Regions from separate parts of the Homo sapiens genome. Here regions 2 and 3 are each linked to region 1. The links are contacts of gene promoters, found by promoter capture Hi-C in blood cells and fetal thymus (Javierre and others, 2016). All regions are on one chromosome and are shown on one strand. Each heading gives the region's core, a stretch centred on a gene start or on the middle of the fragment in contact. The rest is flanking DNA. Distances are from core to core; before and after follow the strand shown. Region 1 holds the start of STARD5 (StAR related lipid transfer domain containing 5). Region 2 has its middle 22 kb from the start of TLNRD1. Region 3 has its middle 21 kb from the start of MESD.

The links. The method cuts DNA at HindIII sites, captures the fragments that hold promoters and counts their contacts. A CHiCAGO score of 5 or more calls a contact.
Region 2: a contact is called between a fragment that was not itself captured here and the fragment with the promoter of STARD5 in region 1, in 3 of 17 cell types (M2 macrophages, monocytes and M1 macrophages). The highest score is 7.3, in M2 macrophages.
Region 3: a fragment that was not itself captured here is called in contact with the fragment with the promoter of STARD5 in region 1 in 1 of 17 cell types (neutrophils); the score reaches 5.6 in neutrophils.

What each region holds. Positions count from the first base shown.
Region 1 is chr15:81,322,666-81,326,390 of GRCh38, forward strand. It overlaps STARD5 (StAR related lipid transfer domain containing 5), which reads right to left and starts at 1,476. Exons shown (of 6, transcript NM_181900.3): 1 at 1,336-1,476; 2 at 234-283. The coding sequence starts at 1,434. TMC3-AS1 (TMC3 antisense RNA 1) reads left to right here and starts at 1,668. Exons shown (of 7, transcript NR_120365.1): 1 at 1,668-1,896. RefSeq lists a silencer at 1,968-2,017. The HindIII fragment of the contact is 9,334 bases long and covers 57-3,725 here.
Region 2 is chr15:81,020,671-81,024,254 of GRCh38, forward strand. No RefSeq gene overlaps it. Among named protein-coding and RNA genes, the nearest start is that of TLNRD1, 22 kb to the left of the region's middle. RefSeq lists an enhancer at 2,680-2,829. The HindIII fragment of the contact is 3,393 bases long and covers 1-3,125 here.
Region 3 is chr15:80,966,573-80,970,093 of GRCh38, forward strand. It overlaps a transcript of MESD not described here. Among named protein-coding and RNA genes, the nearest start is that of MESD, 21 kb to the right of the region's middle. RefSeq lists an enhancer at 30-545. The HindIII fragment of the contact is 1,073 bases long and covers 811-1,883 here.

The DNA.
Region 1 (3,725 bases), core at 226-2,725:
AAGGGGCTGAAAGTCACTAGCCCCGCCTCCCTTCAGGCCTGCAGAAATGGACAGTAAGCTTTCACAAGAATACAGTTTGCTGGAAATGATTTCATTAAAAACAGTAAGGCTTTTCTGGAGGACAAGTGATCACAGGTTATAGGGTTGATTTGAATATTTTAGGAGGCAGGCCCATAAAGATACCAGGAAGGGTGCGGCACCTCTGGTAATCTTTGAACGAGGCATGCACTTACAGGTTCCCTGGAAACTCCACAGATGGCCTCCAGGAAACTGAAACTCCATTCTGTCAAAAGGCACAGAACCACAGAATTTTAGAGCTAGAAGGGCTCTGGTCACCTGGCTTAATCCCCTGTTCTACAGAAGAGGGGTAAGAGGCCTCAAGAGATACGACTCTCCAAGGCTGTGCAACCCATACGTGGAAAAGCTGGGACTAGTCTTGGGCAAAGCTGTCCCCACAGCAGAATGTGATGAAGAAAAAGATCTTAACTGGCTGACTCCAAGAGCCGTGGGTGGTTTTTAAAATTATCTTAAAAGCCACCAGGCATTCTGTTTCCTTGAGCAACCCAGGGCTACTTAATGAAAAGTCAGAAGGGTCAAGCAAAACTACTCCCATGCTACCCTCTGGCAACGACAAAGAGAGGGGTTCATGCTGTAATGAAAAGTCAGAAGGGTCAAGCAAAACTACTCCCATGCTACCCTCTGGCAACGACAAAGAGAGGGGTTCATGCTGTAATGAAAAGTCAGAAGGGTCAAGCAAAACTACTCCCATGTTACCCTCTGGCAACGACAAAGAGAGGGGTTCATGCTGTAATGAAAAGTCAGAAGGGTCAAGCAAAACTACTCCCATGCTACCCTCTGGCAACGACAAAGAGAGGGGTTCATGCTGTAATGAACACAGAAGAAAACCTTAGTATGCATCAGATGCTGGATCAGACTTTACTGGATTTAAACAACATGTAAAAACCTCCTTAGCTGCGACCACATTCTTTCATTTTGTTTTGTTTTTAAACACCTGCTTACCCCTTAAATGCAATTTATTTACTTTTACCACTGTCACAGAAACATCCAGTCCTAAACAGCATTCAACAGCCAGGTGACCTTGGGCAAGTCACTGAGTGAAAGGAACAGATACTTACCACCTGAAGTCATTGTGAGCATAACAGGCCCAATCTTTTTTTTAAAGAAGAAAACAATCCCCATTGGAATCCCTCTCAATCGGGTCCAGGGGATTGGGGAGCAGAAAACAACGGGGAGAGGAGGCGCTTGGGGGCTTCTGGGGACCCGGGCTCCACGAAGCCGTCTCCGCGACCCCTTCCCGCCCAGCTCCTCACTCACGCCTTCCCGGCAAATCTTCCAGCCTGCTGTGTCCCGCCGGTACTGGAGCATCTTCTCGGCCACAGCCTCGCTCATCTGGGCTGCCAGCGCCGGGTCCATTGCGTCGGGAGCTGCGCTTAGCTGCGGGGTCGCGGGTGTTATGAGCGGCGGCGCTGGATCCCGGGTGCCTGGAGGCTGGAGCTCTGGGAGGAGCTCGTAGCCCCGCCTCTTTCCGCGCCCCCGCTCCCGAATTGGTCCAGGCCCTCAGACGGATCCCGCCTCCCGGAGATTGGCAGGACAAGGAGACCGCGGGGCCAGGCTCTCCAGTTAGCGTCAGCGCCTGGGCGGGTCCCGGACGCCTTGGGCGGGCCGGGTAAGGTCCAGCCGTATCCGCCTCCTTCATGTCCCGCTGTGGGAGGGGCTCTGGAGCGCCGGGACTGTGAGATGGCCAATGACGGTCTGACCCGTTGGGCCGGGCCAGGTCGCGGACAACGTCGACCGTTTGTTTAAGAAGCGTGGACTCTTGTCCTGAGTGCACCGAGGCTTTCAGCCTGCGGGACAGTGGTGCGATTTGCATTAGAGGTAATATGCTAGGGCGGCTGCTGCAGGGTGGGAGAGGAAATGCGCGTGGAGACTGGGCGCGTGCAATGGTGGGAGAGGTGTGTGGCAGGGGTGCGGGGAGTGGGGGTGAAGAGAAGAGGACCCATCGTAGAGTGTTTAGGAGATGGAAGGTGAAGGTCTCTGCCCCCGATTGTGGATGTTCAGAAGGAGAAAGCATCATGACTCCCAGCCTTGGCCACCTGGCAGCTTACCTGAGATGGAGAAGAGATAGGGTGAGTTCAGTTCTGGGCATATTTAGTTGGAGGTGCCTGAAGGGCCTTTAGTGCAGGTGTCCAGGAGTCAATGCAATGCGCTGACATCTGCGAGAGGCCCGGCTTTATTAGAGATATGGGAGTTCTCTGCTTCCAGCTGCCCTGGAGCTGCGGGGAGTGAGCCAGGGTCGCATCTTCACAGCGTGAATGGCAAGGACAGCCTCGGTTTCCCCTCTTCTGCGCTATCACCAACTAAATATTTGAAAAGGTTAATACTGAGGTCTATTTCTTATCTTTCTTTTTTATGTACTTATTGTTTCCTTTAAACTTTCGATATAAATGTTTGGAAGAGTAGTGTAAACAAATTGACAACTTGAAAGACCTTTTTGGAAGATGTGAAGGGCAGCCAGGCTGTGAAGAAGACCTGGATGGGGAATTAGGGAGCTCAAGATCTAAACCCAGTTTCACTCATTATTCTTTGAGCTTCAGTTTACTCCAAGGTGAAATGGGATACATCATAAATGTTCCTGGCGGGGTCCGGTGGCTCACGCCTGTAATCCCAGCACTTTGGGAGGCTGAGGCAGGAGATCACTTGAACCTAGGAGTTCGAGACCAGCCTGAGCAGCATGGCGAGACTCCGTCTCTACTAAAAATTCAAAAATTAGCCGGGCATGGTGGCGCGGGGCTGTAATCCCAGCTACTTGGGGGGGCTGAGGTGGGAGGATCGCTTCAACCCGGGAGGCAGAGGCAGCAGTGAACCGTGATCGCGCCACTGCACTCCAGCCTGGGCTGCAGAGCAAGATCCTGTCTCAAAAAGTAATAAAAATAAACAAACAAACAAATAAATGTTCCCTATGCCCTTGTGAAGAGAGAGGGAAGTAACGCATGTAAATACTCTTAGGACCCATAAAAGAAAAGACTAGTAAATTAATCCCATTAAAAAATTAAGCACATCAAAATTTCATAAAAAGTTAGATAATATGAGAAAAAAATCGGGACACACTTTAACACATAAGTTTTCTTATCGAACCAAGGGCTCATACAAATCATTAAGCAATTTTCAGACAACCCCATAAACAAAAAGAATGCATTAGACATGGAAAGATACTTTGTGGAAAAATTAATTGACATGGCTAACAAAGCTATAAAAAGATGCAGAACCTCACTCATTGTTAGGGAATTAAAAATTAAAGCAAGGAGAGGCTTTTCTTAAAACCTATTGATGGACAAACATGAAGTTTGTTTATACCCTGTGTTGGTGAGGGTATGGAGAAATAGTTGTTACACAGCGGATGAGAGTACAAATGTATGCAACCTCCTGGGAACAGAATAACAACATATATTAAAATTTTACTCTACTTGTTCTTTGATCCAGTGACTCTTCCTGCACAAAGATGCATAAAATTAATCTTGCAACTGGAAGTAACCTATTTACCAGTATATTAACCAAAGTTATAGAACATCCACTTAGTGGAATATTATGTAGCCATCAAAATAACCTAGCCCAGATGGTGGAAAGTGGGGATGGAGTAGACCCCCTGCAGGACTATAGTAGCACTATTTTGCTCCTAGGAAATGGGAACGTCTGGATATACAAAA
Region 2 (3,584 bases), core at 179-2,678, 300 kb before region 1:
AAGAGCAGGGTCTGGGCTTATAGGCAAGGAGGAGCTGAGAGAAAGCTCTTAAGAGAAGGAGTTTAAAATGAGGGGCAGTTTTTTGGCATTGGAAGTAAATATTAATGCTAACAATAATCACCAGCTATGCTTGAGGTACCTCCAAACCCATTCCATACAATATTTCATTTGGTAAGTGTTTTTAACCCCATTTTAAAAATGGTGCCCTTGAAGCTCAAAGAGGAGACATGAACTGCTTTGTGGGTGTTGCCGCAGGGAAAGTCAGCTCATCGCCAGAATTGCAAAGAAAAGCAAAAAAAGTGAATTCTTTTTAAAAAAAATTTAGTTACTTTCTTTCTCTTTTTTCCTTTTTAAATTTATTTAAAATTTTTCCCTTTATTTTTATTTTTTGACTTTTTTATTATTTTATTTTTATACTATATTTTACGTGGTACGATCCCTACTGAAAAAAAAAGCAAATTCTCATTTTTTGAGTCTAAAGTCTGGGGTCAAAGTCTAATGAGGGGATTTTATGGGATTTCTTTGGAGGATAATTGTAATAACAAGCACTTTAATCTTAGATGCTGTGTTTAAAAAGGAATAGCCCTCCCTCCCCATCTTTCCCAAGACTCCAGTGCATTTTTCCCTCTGCCACAAACTTGCATCTGTTTCCCCTTACAGTTTTCTGTTTTCATTAGGATGCTTTAGGATGAACCAGATAAGGCCTTACCTCACATAACAGTTGATCAAAGCTGGTAGTTTGGAGCCTCAAGTGCATTTTGCCTGTGGAAAACGTACTAGAACTGCTGCTTAGAATCCTCAGGCAACCCGCACATCTTCGTGCACCAAAATGTGGCTCGGCTGTAGCACAGAAGCTCTTCTCCGTGTTGGCAGCAAAAGACGGTGGAAATGGAAATGGCCAGTTTGCAGAGAGAAACAGTGACTCTAGCCAGGCCCCTGAGTTGGGAAATGGGAGAATTTGTCTTCAGCATCATCTTCCTTGTAATTTCGTATCCTTTGCCCCAGGCTTTCCTAATAATAACTGACACCTACATGATACTTTCTATGTTCTAGGTGCATTTCCAAGCACTTAGAATTGTTCCTTTGTATCTGTGGGGGATTGATTCCAGGACCCCCTTGGATACTAACATCCCTGGATGCTCAACTCCCTGATGTAAAATGGTGTTGTATTTGCATATAATCTGTGCACATCCTCCTGTATACTTTATTATTATCATTTTGAGATGGAGTCTTATTCCATCACCCAAGCTGGAGTGTAGTGGCACGATCATGGCTCACTGTAGTCTCGACCTCTAGGGTCTCAGGTGATCCTCCCACTTCATCCTTCTGAGTAGCTGGAACTACAGGTGCAGGCTACCACATGGGGCTAATTTTTATATATTGCAGATTAATTTTGCAGATTGATAATTTACCACCAGCATGTGAATGACTCATACATATAGTCTTCATCTTCACAGATTAGCTTCTATTTTTTTTGTAGAGATGGGTTTCACCATGTTGCCCAGGCTGGTCTTGAACTTGTGGGCTCAAGCCTTCTGCCTGCCTTGGACTACAGAAGTGCTGGGATTATAGGCGTGAGCCACTGCACCCAGCCCTGTATACTTTAAATCATATCTAGATTACTTATAATACCTACTACAATGTAGATGTTATGTAAATAATTGTTATACCGTGTTGTTTAGGGAATAATGACAATATAAAAAAGTCTCTACTTGTTCAGTTCAGACATCAGACATCATTTTTTCTTTTCTTTTCTTTTCTTTCTTTCTTTCTTTTTTTTTTTTTTTTTTAAAGAGTCTCACTCTGTTGCCCAGGCTGGAGTGCAGTGGTGGATCTTGGCTCACTGCAACCTCTACCTCCTGGGTTCAAGGGATTCTCCTGCTTCAGCCTCCTGAGTAGCTAGGACTACAGGCATGCACCATCATGCCCAGCTAATTTTTGTATTTTTAATGGAGACGGGGTTTCACCATGTTGCCCAGGCTGGTCTTGAACTCCTGACCTCAAGCGATCCACCTGCCTTGGCCTCCAATAGTGCTGGGATTACAGGTATGAGCCACCACACCCAGCCCAGACATCATTTTTTCTTTCAAATATTTTCTGTCTGCAGTTCGTTGAACCCACAGATATGGAGCCCACAGATACAGAGGGCTGACTGTATACATTAACTCATTTAATCCTCATGATAACCCTAGGCGCGTTGGCTCACACCTGTAATCCCAGCACTCTGGGAGGCCAAGGCGGGTGGATTACCTGAGGTCAGGAGTTTGAGACCAGCCTGGCCAACATGGTGAAACCCCGTCTCTACTAAAAAATACAAAAAATTAGCCGGGTATGGTGGCAGGCACCTGTAATCTAAGGTACTTGGGAGGCTGAGGCAGGAGAATCGCCTGAACCCCAGAGGCGGAGGTTGCAGTGAGCCAAGATTGCGCCATTACACTCCAGCCTGGGCAACAAGAGCAAAACTCCATCTCAAAAAAAAAAAAAAGAACGTAAGGAAGCAAAAAATGTGAGGGAGTTTTTACGCATGGAGGGTTAATAAACTCAAGATGGCAGGGGTTCACAAAAGCCCATAGAACATACTGTCTATTTATTGGGCTCTTGCTATGTACTACACACTTTACATACATCCTCATTTCATACAGTACCTTGATGAAATATGCACATTTAAGAATCAGAGTCTAACAGACCTTAGGCAAGTTGTCCGAGGTCGTACAGCGGATGGGTGGCAGAGCCAGAATTTGGACCCAGGACTCTTTTGACTCCAGCATTTGCAATCTCAAATAGTGTTTCATCGGCCTTTTTATGGCTTGTGGATGACTATTGTTGTGAGGAGGATCAACGGTGCAGGGTCAGAAATGCAGTTTTGACTCCTATTGTTGGCAGTCAAATTACTGCTTGCTTCTGCTAATTTGCTTCCTGTCCTGCTTAGGCTGCAACCAGGGCAGAGTTTCGTTCGCTCCCTGGGCAGCTGTCCTGCCAGCATTACCTCATTCCATCTTGAACCCTCCCGCAGCCCAACAGGGAAGGGCTGAGAAGCACGTGGCCCAGGACAGAAGGCCAGGAACGAACTGCCTCACCAGGGACTCTAGCCTTGATTCTCTGAAAAAATGTGGTTTGCTCAGAGAAGCTTTTACCCAAGAGGAAGGAAAACTACGGCAATCGAGTTTCAGCTGACCTTAAAACCCCTGTGATCTTAGTCCCCGTCATTTAGTGAATTCTGCATATTACTCAGCTTCTCCATTGTGTAGCTGGAGGAAATATTCATGCTGTGTCATCTTTGGTAGTCAGTGGGCAGTTTTCTCCCTGCCGAGTTTACTTTTTTTGCATTTTGAAGTTCAAGATCAGGTTGGGTGTTTGAGTGATCTACGTCTGGGAGCCAGAGGAGGTTTTGTATTCAATGGTGACCAGCATGTGTTCCCAGCCTAAGCATGAATGAAAACAGTTCAGAACATTTTTTTCCTCTCCAGCTCCTTTCAAGGGGCACGTGCCCATAAGGCCAACCCTGAATGATTTGGGCAAGTAAGTATGGACAGCCAAACTCAGAGGAGAGAGGAATTGGATGAGGCTAATGTCAAGGTCTTATC
Region 3 (3,521 bases), core at 97-2,596, 360 kb before region 1:
CCAAGCTTCCACCCCTCCTGCTGTGCCACTGCCCCCAGCTTCCAGGCTGCCTCTGTGTCCACTCATGCCTGCTCAAATCTCAGCTTAGTGGCCACCTGCTCCAGGAAGCTTTTCTCTGGCCTCCCTTGGAAAATCCCTCTGTTGCAAGCTACAAGCACCTTGCATAGTTGCCACTGTACACTGTGGGTGTGTGTATTTGATTCAGGCCCTCTTCTTCCATACCCTGCTGCCTCTCTGCTCCACAACCTTTGCACCTCTTCTCTTCCTCCTGATTCTGCATCTCAAAAGCCCAAATAACTGGCTTGAAGTGGCCAACTCCTCCTTATTGGGCAGTTCCGCTGGTTAAATTCCTCTGGGAAATGCTGGCCCATTCCAACTGAGGCCCATCGAGGTGATGCGCTCAAGGCATTGATTTTAAAACTAGAAGTAGAAGCCCTTGGCCGGGCGCAGTGGCTCACTCCTGTAATCCTAGCACTTGGGAGGCTTAGGTGAGCAGATCACCTGAGGTCAGGAGTTCGAGACCAGCCTGACCAACATGAAGAAACCCCCGCCTCTACTAAAAATACAAAATTAGCTGGGCATGGTGGTGCATGCTTGTAATCCCAGCTACTTGGGAGGCTGAGGCAGGAGAATCACTTGAACCCGGGAGGTGGAGGTTGTGGTGAACCGAGATCACACCATTGCACTCCAGCCTGGGCAACAAGAGTGAAACTCCATCTCAAAAAAAGAAAAAGAAAAAAGAAAAGAAAAGAAGTAGGAGCCCTCAGGGAGTTTTAATTTAGAGCAAGGACCTCAGAGAATTTGTAAGGAAGCTTCTATCCTAAGGGAGTCAGGGACCTCCTTTGCATTAGAATAAGGATCCCTATTGTCTTGTTTCTTCCAGACCCTGGCATGTAAATCCCAGGCCTGGCAGGACTTGCCACCCTGTTTATAGAAGAGGTAAGGCCCAGGGAAAGCAAGTATGGCACTCAATGTCGTCCAACTTGGAGCTGAGGTAGGAGGCATGGATCAAAGGGGCCCCAGTGTTTCTAGGCCTATGGCTGAAGCTCTCTCCTGCAGGAAGAATGCGGGCTGGCCTGAAAAACAGATGCAAGGCAGACCAGATGTCCCTGGGCATTCTTCACATTCCACCAACTGCAGCCCTCCTTGGCTGAGAGCTGCCAAGTCTGGGCTTCCAATTCATCAGCTTGGAAACTTCACCTCAGAAACTTCGGCAGACTTCTCTGGAGAAAACAAAAATTGCCCTAGGTCTGCCAGGGAACAGTGGTCAAAGATTTAAAATTGCAAGTTGGGCTGCTGAGATCCAGAATTTGACAAGCCCAGGTTTAAGCTGATTCAACAAGATCTATGGAGAGTTGGCCAAGTGGCCCCAACTGCAGGCTCAGGTTTTCCCAGATGCTGGATCAAGTGGAAAGGGGTCCAACATCTCAAGTTTCTGGCTTGTGACACTTGCGTGGGACCTCCTGAAATCTGCCTACCAAAAATTTCCTTGTACCAGCAAGCAGCATGGTCAAACTGCAGTCTCCTGCAGACCGCTTGGACTCTGGCAGCTCTGCCCCTTTCAGGGCAAACCATCTCACCTGAGAGCAGGTCCTCAGCCATGCAGGTATCTGAGAGCAGAGCACCAAGGTGGTGGGAACGGCAGATGTTTCTGCCTGGAAGGAAGCTGACCCGCTCTGCTCTGGCATACCCTACACTGGGCAAGGTGGCCATTCTCCTTCTGGAGCAATCTCTGTGGCCCATGTAGAATTCCATCCCAGCCCCTCCCTTAGAGTGTCAAGCCACAGTGAAAACTGCAGTGCCTCCAGAAGAAAACAGCCCAGGCAGGATGTTATCCTGCCTTCTCCTAGCTGTGACTCTCAGCAAGGGGCTTAACCCCTACAAGCTTCTGTCTAGTCACCTGAAGCACAAAACACACACACAAATGATAATAGTTAACATGTACTGAAAGCTCTGTTGGCCAGGCACAGTGGCTCACACCTGTACTCCTTTGGAAGGCCAAGGTGGGAGGATCGCTTGAGCTCAGGAGTTTAAGACCAGCCAAGGTAAAATAGTGAGACCCCACCTCTTTACTTTAAAAATAAAATAAAAAAGAAAGCTGTGTTAAGTGCTTCACAGGGACTTGCTCATTTAATCCTTATAATACTTCTCTGAAATGGGAACTTTTATTAGCACCTACAGGCTTAGATGAGTGAGGTCCTTAAATAACTTGTCCAACATGATACAGCTAATAAAATGCAGAGCTGGGAAGTCCAACACCAGAACTGTGCTTCAAAGGGCCACATAGTAAATGTTAACTAATACCAACCTTGTGGGGTTGTGAAGGGTAAATGAGGTCGGGCACAGTGGTTCACACCTGTAATCCCAACACTTTGGGAGGTCAAGGTGGGAGGATTGCTTGAACCCAGGAGTTCAAGACCAGCCAGGGCAACATAGGGAGACCCTGTCTCTACAAAAAATATTAAAAAATTAGCTGGGTGTGATGGTGCACACCTGTGGTCCCAGCTACCCAGGAGATTGAGGTGGGAGGACCACTTGAGCCTGGAGGTCGAGGCTGCAGTGAGCTGCCATCGTGCCAGTGCACTCCAGCGTGAGCAACAGAGTGAGACCCTAACTGAAAATAAAATGAGAGTAAATGAAATAAAGTATGTAAAGACCTGCACACAGTGGGTAGCATGTCACAGTTAGGTAAGGATGTCCAGAGCTTGCACACAGTAGGCACACTCCATGCTGAAAGACATTGTGTGTCTTTTAATATTCAACCTGTAAATACCAAGAAGGCAGGGACCTTGCCTGCCTTGCTATCTTTATCTCCACTGCCTGCACACTTCCCGAAACTTATTGGTGTTCAGCACTTACATGGGGAGTGCTTGTATCAACACTTGGCACATGGGTCTGAGAAGAGGTCCAGAGAAGGGGAGCAGCCCCTCTCCCAAGCAGATTACAGTGGCTGGTGTCAGTTTTGGAGTCTGCCTGCCTGAGTTTAAATCCTGGGTTTGAGGCTGGGCATGGTGGCTCACGCCTGTAACCCTAGCGCTTTGGGAGGTCGAGGCAGGCGGATCAGTTGAGGTCAGGAGCTCGAGACCACCCTGGCCAATATAGTGAAACCCCGTCTCCACTAAAAACACAAAAATTAGCCAGGTGTGGTGGCGGGTGCCTGTAATCCCAGCTACTCAGGAGTCTGAGGCAGGAGAATCACTTGAATCCGGGAGGCGGAAGTTGCAGTGAGCCGAGATGGCGCCACTGCACTCCAGTCTGGGCGACAGAGCAAGGCTCTGTCTTAAAAAACAACAACAAAAAATCCTGGCTTTGTCACTGCCTTGCAGCGTGACCTTGGGGAAAATACTGAATGGCTATGTGCCTCAGTTTCCTTGTGTGCAAAATGGGGATGACAGTATTTACTGCATAGGGCTGCTTGCTATGAGGATGAAGTAAATTAATATTACTAGAACAGTACACATGGATAAGATAATCCCTTGGATTTCCAAGAGAATTCAGAGAGAGAGGTGTATGCAGATTTT